Regions from separate parts of the Homo sapiens genome. Here region 2 is linked to region 1. Evidence: promoter capture Hi-C in human tissues and cell types (Jung and others, 2019). All regions are on one chromosome and are shown on one strand. The core of a region is centred on a gene start or on the middle of the fragment in contact, and the rest is flanking DNA. Distances in the headings are between cores, read along the strand shown.

What was found. Contacts are between HindIII fragments. The study calls those that stand out against the background at their distance.
Region 2: a contact is called between a fragment that was not itself captured here and the fragment with the promoter of SCGB3A1 in region 1, in 1 of the 25 tissues and cell types used here (thymus).

What each region holds. Positions count from the first base shown.
Region 1 is chr5:180,589,550-180,594,511 of GRCh38, reverse strand. SCGB3A1 (secretoglobin family 3A member 1) reads left to right here and starts at 3,013. Exons shown (of 3, transcript NM_052863.3): 1 at 3,013-3,101; 2 at 3,674-3,912; 3 at 4,258-4,407. The coding sequence starts at 3,050. The coding sequence ends at 4,281. It overlaps LOC124901154 (a long non-coding RNA gene), which reads right to left and starts at 1,342. Exons shown (of 2, transcript XR_007059088.1): 1 at 1,303-1,342; 2 at 244-619. RefSeq lists enhancers at 2,812-3,481, 3,482-4,151, 4,152-4,821. The HindIII fragment of the contact is 36,128 bases long and covers 1-4,962 here.
Region 2 is chr5:180,550,283-180,555,322 of GRCh38, reverse strand. CNOT6 (CCR4-NOT transcription complex subunit 6) reads right to left here. Exons shown (of 12, transcript NM_001370472.1): 4 at 1,852-1,937. Among named protein-coding and RNA genes, the nearest start is that of SCGB3A1, 39 kb to the left of the region's middle. The HindIII fragment of the contact is 3,220 bases long and covers 2,115-5,040 here.

The sequences.
Region 1 (4,962 bases), core at 1,764-4,263:
AATGAATACAGAGGCAGCCGCTGACCCAGCTGTGCAGGTCTCGGCACAGGCCAGACCCTCGGCCTGCCTGATCCCCAACTACCGCAGAGGCTTCGCCAGCCGTGGCCCCCAGAGCCAGTGTGGGGTGAGGGGCTGGGCCAGCCTGAGGTGAGTCCTGGCTTGCCTTGACCATGGCAGCTCGGGAGAGGAGAGCACATCCTTTGGCCCTGTCAGTGGTGAAACGGAGACACCGTGACACACTTCTCCGGGGAGCCAGGGGATGTATTTTTGGAATCCGAAATCTTGGGGCACATGGGAATGAGGGCCTGTCACCACCCTGCAGGCTTGTGGGAAATGGGAACAGATCCACCCAAGGCACTATGAGCCGGAAGGTGGAGGGAGGTTATTTTGAAGACAAAGGATCCCTGGAGGCAGGTGCAAGGGGCCGCTGGAGTGGCCAGGACCCCAAGCGCTGCTGGGGACCCACAGATGACGGCCTCCCCCTCCTCCTGGCCTCGGCAGCATCGGTCTTTCCCGCGGTCAGTGTTCTCTGGTCCCCAGGCAGCATGGGGAAAGGTGGCCCCAAAGTCAGCTCCCAAGATGCGCCCACTGGGATTGCTTGGGCCAAGGCTGCCAGATCCTGCTCAGGAGAAGAACAAGCATCATGAGGTTGTGGACACACTGGGATCCTTGTGCATTGTTGCTGGGAAGGCAGCGTGGTGCCGCTGCTATGGGAGAGATGGCAGATCCTCACAAATGACACAGGCAAGTTCCACAGGCTCCAGCCATTCTACCTCTGAGCAGCCACCCAAAACAGCCAACAGCAGGGTCCCAAAGAGGCATTTGCACAGCCGTGTTCACGGCCGCATTACTCACAGCAGTGAAAACATGCAAGCGCCCACATGTCCACCCACGGGTGAAGTGAATGGGTGAAGAAAACGTGGCACAGCCATGCAATGGAGCAGTATCCTACCCTAAGAAGGAAGGAAACTCTGAAGGTCATGAATGAACCTGGAGGATATCATGCTAAGTGAAATACGCCAGACACAAAAGACAAACACTGCCCGATTCCACTCATATGAGGTGCCGGGAGTGGCCAGATTCAGAGACAGAAAGTGGAATGGTGGTGCCAAGGGCTTGGGGAGGGGAGTGGGGAGTTGTTTAATAGGCTCAGAGTTTCAGTTTTATAAGAGGAAAAGAGTTCTGGAAATGGATTGTGGTGATGTTTGCACAACATTAGAATATACTTAATGCTAATGGAGTGTGCCCTTAAGATGGTGAAGCTGGGCTGTGCGGGGTGGCTCACACGTGTCATCACAGCACCTTGGGAGTCTGAGGCGGGAGGATTGCTTCAGGCCAGGATTTTGAGACCAGCTTGGTCAATGTAGCGAGACCCCATCTCTAGAAAAAATAAAAATAAATCAAGCCAGGCGTGGTGGCTCACACCTGTAATCCCAGCACTTTGGGAGGCTGAGGCAAGAGTATCACTTGAGGCTAAGAGTTCAAGACCAGTCTGGGCAACACAGTGAGACTTTGTCTCTACAAAAAATAAACAAAATTAGCTGGACATAGTGGTGCACACCTATAGCCCCACCTGCTTGGGAGGCTGAGGTGGGAGAATTGCTTGAGCCTGGGAGGTGGAGGCTGCAGTGAACCAAGATCACCTCACTACACTCCAGCCTGGGCGACAGAGTGAGACTGTCTCAAAAAACAAACAAACAAAAAACAAAATCAAAATCCGCTGAGTGTGGTGGCTCACACCTCTAGTCCCAGCTACTTGGGAGTCTGAGGTGGGAGGATTGCTTGAGCTCAGGAGTTCGAGACCAGCCTGGGCAACACGGCAAGACAGTGTCTTTACCACCACCAAAAAAGTAATTAACTTCAAACTGTTTTTAAAAAAGAAAACGTATTTCCCATTAAAATTACTTCCATGATGACCAACAAAACACAACCAAACTCCAGATTTATAATGCAAAAATCCCCCAAACAAAATAGTCAAGGAAAAGTGTAAGTGAACAGAAACAGTGTGAATGCGTGTGCCTGGCCACAACAGTTGGCAAAGGCACAAGTGTCTGCAGGTGCGGAGGAGGCCGCAGTAGCTCGGGGTGGCTGAGGGCTAAGACGTGCTGTCAGCCATAGGGAAGGAATTCCAGGACACTGCCTGAAGAGTCAGGTCCTCCCACCCGGGAGCCTGTTTCCCACGCGTGCCAGCTACACTTTACAAAAGAAAAGAGAGACTTTGCACCAACCTAGCTGAGAGCAGCCACGCAGCAAAACGTGAGTCACTCAGTGCTCAATGCCTGGGGTCAAAAAATAGAGGAAAGAAGAAGGACTAAAAGCAAATTAGTTTATGTATCATTTGCAAAAGTTTTCAAAATGTGCTTTGCTCTCCATCTGTCATACTTCTGCAGGTGACAGACGAGTGAGGACATTTAGAGAAACTCAGGAACAAACCAGGCCCATCCACTGGCGTCGAGGCTAGTTTCGAAGACAGAAAAACGCCCCACTTCTGTTTGCACTGTGGCTGCCTGTGGCCCGGCCGGGGAGGCGGCCGGGAGTGAGGCCTGATCGTCCCTGGCGCCTCCACCTCCCCAGGCGCAGAAGGCGCCCACGAGGACCCCCAGTGCCCGACGTTGCCACGGTCTGGGATCAGAGGCAGGGACCAGGGAGCCAGGAACTGCGCCGCCCCCGCCCCTGCCCTGGCGCGAGGGAAGCTCCCCTCACCCGGGCCCAGCCCTGCAGGGGGGCGCGTGGGGTCAGACCGCAAAGCGAAGGTGCGGGCCGGGGTGGGCCTCGCGGAGACAAAGGCCGGGCCTGCCTGCTCTCAGAGGGCCCCAGCGCCTGCCAAGAGGAAGTCCTCGAGGCCCGGGCAGGGAAGGGGGCACGGGCTTCCCAGGGCCCGCCGGCCGCAGCAGGAAGTTGGCCAGGGCACGGCCGTGAGCGGAGCGGGCAGGGCTTTCTCAGGAGCGCGGGCGAGGCCGGCGCTGGAGGGGCGAGGACCGGGTATAAGAAGCCTCGTGGCCTTGCCCGGGCAGCCGCAGGTTCCCCGCGCGCCCCGAGCCCCCGCGCCATGAAGCTCGCCGCCCTCCTGGGGCTCTGCGTGGCCCTGTCCTGCAGCTCCGGTGAGCGCCCCGGGCTCCTGGCGCGCACGGTGGGGCCTGAGGCCTCGGCGCCCGCTGCGCCCCCGCCGCTGCCTGCGCCGATCGTGGATCCCAGGTCCTTCCAGCCTCGCCCGGCGCCCAGAGGGCTCCGCCACCCCGGGGCCCCGCGCCTGCAGCCCGCGGCCTCCCCCTCTCAGGGCTGTCTCCAGCCTCGTGCCGGGATGGAGGCCGCCCCTGGCCTGGGGACACCCGTCTGCCCCCCGTCTGGAGACCGGCTCCTCATCCTGCAAGGCGCAGCGCGAGTGTCCCCTCCCTTGGGGGCCTGTCCCGGACCCTGCACAGAGTTCACCGGTCCTTCCGCCACCCTCAGGCCACTCCGGTGACCCTGCAGCGTCTCCTGGCGGGGCCGCCTCCCCAGACCCGCCTGTGTCCCGGGGGCTCGCACCTGGCAGGCCTCGGCGCAGGAGGGAGGGGCGGTCGGGGAGCCGGGCAGGGCGCGACGGTTCCTGGGCGCCTCCCGCGGGGGCGCGTCCTGGACCTGCCTTCTGGGGACCCCGGCGCGCAGGCGGTGACCCCTCCCTGTTCGCTTGCAGCTGCTGCTTTCTTAGTGGGCTCGGCCAAGCCTGTGGCCCAGCCTGTCGCTGCGCTGGAGTCGGCGGCGGAGGCCGGGGCCGGGACCCTGGCCAACCCCCTCGGCACCCTCAACCCGCTGAAGCTCCTGCTGAGCAGCCTGGGCATCCCCGTGAACCACCTCATAGAGGGCTCCCAGAAGTGTGTGGCTGAGCTGGGTCCCCAGGCCGTGGGGGCCGTGAAGGCCCTGAAGGCCCTGCTGGTAAAGTGGGCACCCCGGGTGCCCTTCCTGCGCGGGCATCCCTTCCCGGCCAGCCTCAAAACTGCACCAGAGGTGTCCCGGCCCTACGTCAGGGCTGTTTCCCGTCCTGCCCCTCCAAGCCCTGTCCCTGGGAGAAGCCCGGGTCTCCGGGTGGGAACTGGGTGGGGCGCATCCGAGCTGCAGGGGCGGGGAAGGCGGAGATGGCCCCGCGCGGGTGCGCGTCCCCCGGAGACGCCAGCGGAACCGCCCCGCTCCCGCTCCCCACAGAGCCGGCCGCTGCCGCGCCCCCGCCTGAGTTCTTGGTGGCAGGGCTGGGGGCACTCAAGCTCGGCTTCTGCTTTCCAGGGGGCCCTGACAGTGTTTGGCTGAGCCGAGACTGGAGCATCTACACCTGAGGACAAGACGCTGCCCACCCGCGAGGGCTGAAAACCCCGCCGCGGGGAGGACCGTCCATCCCCTTCCCCCGGCCCCTCTCAATAAACGTGGTTAAGAGCAGCTCGAGCCTGGTATTTTCTCATCCAAATGCTGATCCCTGTGGGGGACCGAGAGTGCCAAGTCCCAGATTTTGTGAGGGGTGCTGCGTGAGAGAGGGAGAGAGAGGCCGCGAGAGTCTGCAGGTGGCATAGAGCCAGCAGTGCAAGGTGACAGAGATGGGGCCAGTATCAGAGGTAAACCGGATTTGGAAACAAAACTGGCAGGTCTTTCTTCCTGTTGTGCTCTGTAACTGTTTATGAAGCATAAAAATTATCTACTCCTTGAAGACTGGCGAGAATGCAAACGCACCAAAGCCATTTGTTGCTAAAATTTGAAAGTTTTTATTTTTTCCCTCTATACTTGTAGATTTCTTCCTCGGAATGGGGGAGGAATGAGGGCTTCAGGAAATCCGCTGTTGGGCTTGTTTTCCCTGCAGTTTCTGCTGGTTTTGTCCAAATAACCTAGTGACTTTGATTCCTTCTACTCTAGCGGAGAGACCACCTTTTGTCAACTGATCTAGTGTTGGTGGGAAGGTGCCCAGGGAACCCAGACATCGGTGTCCCTTTCAGGGGAAGC
Region 2 (5,040 bases), core at 2,475-4,974, 40 kb after region 1:
CAGTATGAAAATTTATGGCCTGGTGCAGTGGCTCACGCCTGTAACCCCAGCAATTTGGGAGGCCAAGGAGGGCAAATGACTTGAGGTCAGGAGTTTGAGACCAGCCTAGCCAACAGGTGAAATCTCGTCTCTGCTAAAAACACAAAAAATTAGCTGGGCATGGTGGTGGGTACCTGTAATCTCAGCTACTCGGGAGGCTGAAGCAGAAGAATTGCTTCAACCAGGGAGAAGGAGGCTGCAGTGAGCCGATATCATGATGCCACTGCACTCTAGCCTGGGCGACAAGAGACTCTCTCTCAAAAAAAAAAAAAAGCAAATTTGTGACTGGTGACCCTAACTTCAAATAAAGTTTGTGAAAAGCCTTAGTGAGTACGAATTACAAATTACAGTTTGTAAAATATATAGTGTAAGATTAGGAAAACCTTGAATTGGAAAAACATACCTCCGCCATGAGGAAGACTGGAAGAACAAAGAGGGTCTCAACATTCTGTAATGTTCCATTTCTTTTGCATTAAAAAAATTATACACAAAAATGATAAAGTATTCACTGTTAATTCTGGCAGTCAGTATATGGACACTTTGCCACACAGTACTTTTCTGTTCTTCAAATTTAGAAACAGCTAGACTGGGAAATATAACAGAAAAGGGCATCTTCATCTTGCATTTCACTGGCCTTTATATTTAGAAGCCTTAGCTAGTTCAGCCCACACAGAAAAAAAATTACAAACCATTTACAATGTTGATATCTGTTGAATATGACTTTCCGTACATTTTAAAACATATATTTCTATTTATTTAAAAAAAACTGTTCTTTTATGATATATAAAATATTTACAGGACTAAAACCTTTTATATAACTGTATTTTTAAGAAACTAAGAGTGCAATTCCTTTTTTTTTTTTTTTTAAGACAGAGTCTCGCTCTGTCACCCAGGCTGGAGTGCAATGCCACAATGTCACCTCACTTCAACCTCTGCTTCCCAGGTTCAAGCAAGTCTCATGCCTCAGCCTCCCAAGTAGGTGGTACTACAGGTGGGAACCACCATGCCAAGCTGACTTTTGTATTTTTGGTAGAGATTGGGTTTTGCCATGTTGCTCATGCTGGTCTTGAACTCTTGGCCTCAAGATATCCACCCACCTCAGCCTCCCAAAGTTTTGTGATTACAGGTGTGAGCCACTGTGCCCGGCCTAAGGGTGCAAATCTTGACGACTTCATCTAGTGACTTTTTTGAAGAAGCAACTGTACAGTAGGCTAGACACACCTACCCAAGGCTGGTGAAGAACTGCTTAACATGATAAAAAATTTATAGGCATTGACATACTGTCAAAATATAACTTTCAATATTGTTGGCTTAAAAAATATTTATTTCCTAATAGTTCTTGCTGGATCAATTATGGCCCTATAATCACAAGTCCTCATAAATCAAGTTTTTTTAAATATGCTTAAATCTTGATCATCAGCAGGTTCAAATGGTCAACATTTTCGACTTCCTGTTTTCTGTACTATATGAGAGGCTCCATGTTTTTTGAGATTTGAATCTAAGAAAAACAGCTGTTTATAACATGATGAAATAAAGCATAGCCTCAGGGATGTATCACCAGAACACAGGGTTTATTAAAACAGAGGCTAGAAAAGAAGGGCTGGGTCCGGAGCAAAAAAAAAGAAAACAAAGACTAGTAGATAGTCTACAGCTGAACAGAGAAGATAAAACCATTGCGATATAGCTAAGAAACTGATGAAGTCTGGGGGAAAATGAGTCTTTAAAAGAATCCCCTAGCAGAAAGCTTCTTGGCTTCTTTAGATTCAAAGACATATACACAAACCATAAGAAGTACAAATATGGAAGTCATACCTTTCAGGCCTAAAGTCTGCAACTGAAACAGTTTTCCCAGCTCAAAAGGTAGAACTCGTAACAGGTTGTTATTTAAATGGAGCTCCCTGTTGATGTAAAAATTCCAGGAAGTCAGAAAAATATGTTAGCCTTTAACAGTTAAAATCAACAACATAGTTTCTAGGAACATAAGCACCTAAGAATGAAAAAATGTTACGTTATATTTCAATGTCTAGTACTGCGTTTCTTAAATAACATGTGGTTTAAAAAAAAAAACTGCCAGAGAATACAAGAAACAAATTACTAGAGAAAATGAAATAATGGGGGAAAAGGACAAAATGTAAGACCCAATTTTTAAAAAGTATTAGATTTAACAGACATATAAAATTCCTCAACTGCTGTATTAATCTCACTGCAGACTGGCAAGACAGTTTGCAAACTGGCACCAGGTCACAGACCACACTGAGTATCACTGGTCTAGTACACATGGGGTCTACTACACATTTAAGAAAGTGGAAATGATAAAGCAGCCTACCATGTGAATTCTTAAAAGAGAACTAAAATGATCATTTCGTTAACGACTCAAAAGAGCTCGTAACAGCTGCATAATTAAGCTTATGATTGCTATCAACTAAAGTTGCATTTAAAAAATAACAGCAGCTGTATTAACTGTTCATGATTATTCTTAATATGATTTGTTTTGCAGAGATAATCATGATATAAATATCAAAGGAACCTTCAAGGGTGAGCCGGGGGGACACGCGGGGAAAGAACCACCAGAGACCCAATACGGACACAGTGGCAATGTAACGCATGCAGTTTTATTTTTCAATTTTTTTTTTTTTTTGAGACGGAGTCTCGCTCCATTGCCCAGGCTGGAGTGCAGTGATGCGATCTCGGCTCACTGCAAGCTCCGCCTCCCGGGTTCACGCCATTCTCCTGCCTCAGCCTCCCGAGTAACTGGGACTACAGGTGCCTGCCACCACACCCAGCTAATTTTTTTTTTTGTATTTTTAGTAGAGACGGGGTTTCACCGTGTTAGCCAGGATGGTCTCGATCTCCAGACTTTGTGATCCGCCCGCCTCGGCCTCCCAAAGTGTGCTGGGATTATAGGCTTGAGCCATCGTGCCCAGCCTATTTGTCACTTTTTAAGTGTGCAAGAAATCTATTTCTATAATCTTTGGTTTTTGACATTTAAATGAATCTTGGTTACTGAGCAAGCCAGAAGGTCTGTGTGGCTGTAAACTCAACAAGAAGAGCAAGTTCTGATATCTGGCTCCTGTTTATTTCCAAATACAATATACAGAAAAAAGGAGGTCCCTCGGGCTGGGCACGGTGGCTCACGCCTGTAATCCCAGCACTTTGGGAGGCCGAGGCAGGCAGATCATTTGAGGTCAGGAGTTTGAGACTAGCCTGGCCAACATGGTGAAACCCTGTCTCTACTACAAATACAAAAATTAGCTGGGCATGGTGGCACACGCTTGTAATCCCAGCTACTTGAAAGGCTGAGGCAGGAAAATCACTTGAACCCGGAGGCAGAGGTTGCAGTGAGCCGAGATCACACTATTGCACTCCAGTCTGGGCGACAAGAGTAAAATTCCGTCTCCAAAAAAAAAAAAAGAAAAAGAAAAAGGAGGTCCTTCAAGTAAATTTGTTTCAGAGGACTAAAAACAGTCATAGAACAAACTCAATTAAACCTAAAAAAAAGTCAAAAGGCTGGAGTAGGAGCAATAGAGGCAAAGACCTTTCAAAAGGTCCTTATTCCTTTTTACTACATGGCTAATGGCAGAAGGCAGCAGGAAAGCCAGTGGAACCATGTCAAAAAGTCAGTTAACATGAAATAGTACAAAATATTCCATTGGGATTAACATAATACATGGAATTTAGCTTTATATTAACTTGGTTAGATCTTATCTACCTTATAAAACAGAAGTAAAATAATAATAATAATCATGGGCCAGCCACAGTGGCTCATGCCTGAAATCCCAATTCTCTGGGAGGCCAAGATGGGAGGATCTTTTGAGGCTAGGAGTTTAAGACCTGCCTGGGCAACATAGTGAGACCCTCATCTCTATCAAAATAAACATAGCAATGACCATTTCTTTTCTTTCTTATTTTCTAGAGGGGAGGAGGGTAGAGACAGGGTCTTGCTCTGTCACCCAGGCTGGAGTGCAGTGGCATGATCTCTGCTCACTGCAACCTCAACCTCCTGGGCTCAAGCCATCCCTCCACCTCAGCCTCCCAAGTAGCAGGGACTACAGGTGCATGCCACGAAGCCCAGCTAATTATCTGGGGATTTTTTTTTTTTTTTGTAGAGACCAGGTTCTCGCTATGTTGACCAGACTGGTCTGAAACACCTGGGCTCAAGCAATCAGCCCGCCTCAGCCACTCAAAGTACTGGGATTACAGACATGAACCACCACATGCAGTCTGCAATTACCATTTCTTAAAACACAGTATATGCCAGGCAAGGTACTAGTGTTTTTTTACCCATTATCTCAAACATCCCTTATCCTGGGTCAAGAAGGTTGTCCAAGATCACACAACTCATAAATGGCAAAGTTAAGATTCCAACCTGAACTTACACATGTGAATCCAAATGCTATATATTTCATGCTACAGGCCCCCAAATTTAATAATTATAGCTCCTTCAAGTCCAGGCTTTACTACTATCAAACATACAAGCCCTGGGATGGCAAAAAGGTTTCACCAACTGGCAATGGTTTCCTGGACCCTGTGTTAAGGATGGTATGGTGCCCTGTTTGTCATGAGGAAGTATGTGGGATAACATAAGCACCTTGCAGTCTACCCACTCTCTGTCCAAACTTTCTCATTCAAAAATAAAGTCTATTACACAAAATACAGTAATTAAAAAATTCAGCCAATGATCTACTTAATTTATTATTAGCTGACATTCAATTTTCCCAAAAACAAAACTATAAAGTTATAAAGGATATAGTTATGTTTCCTTTTATTCAAATACCATTAAATGAACAGTTTTGTTTCCTAACACAACAAATGTTTTTTTGTTTTTGTTTTTTTTGAGATGGACTCTCGCTCTGTCACCCAGGCTGGAGTGCAGCGGTGTGATCTCGGCTCACTGCCACTCCACCTCCCGGGTTCACACTGTTCTCCTGCCTCAGCCTCCCGAGTAGCTGGGACTACAGGTGCCCGCCACCACGCCTGGCTAATTTTTTGTATTTTTAGTAG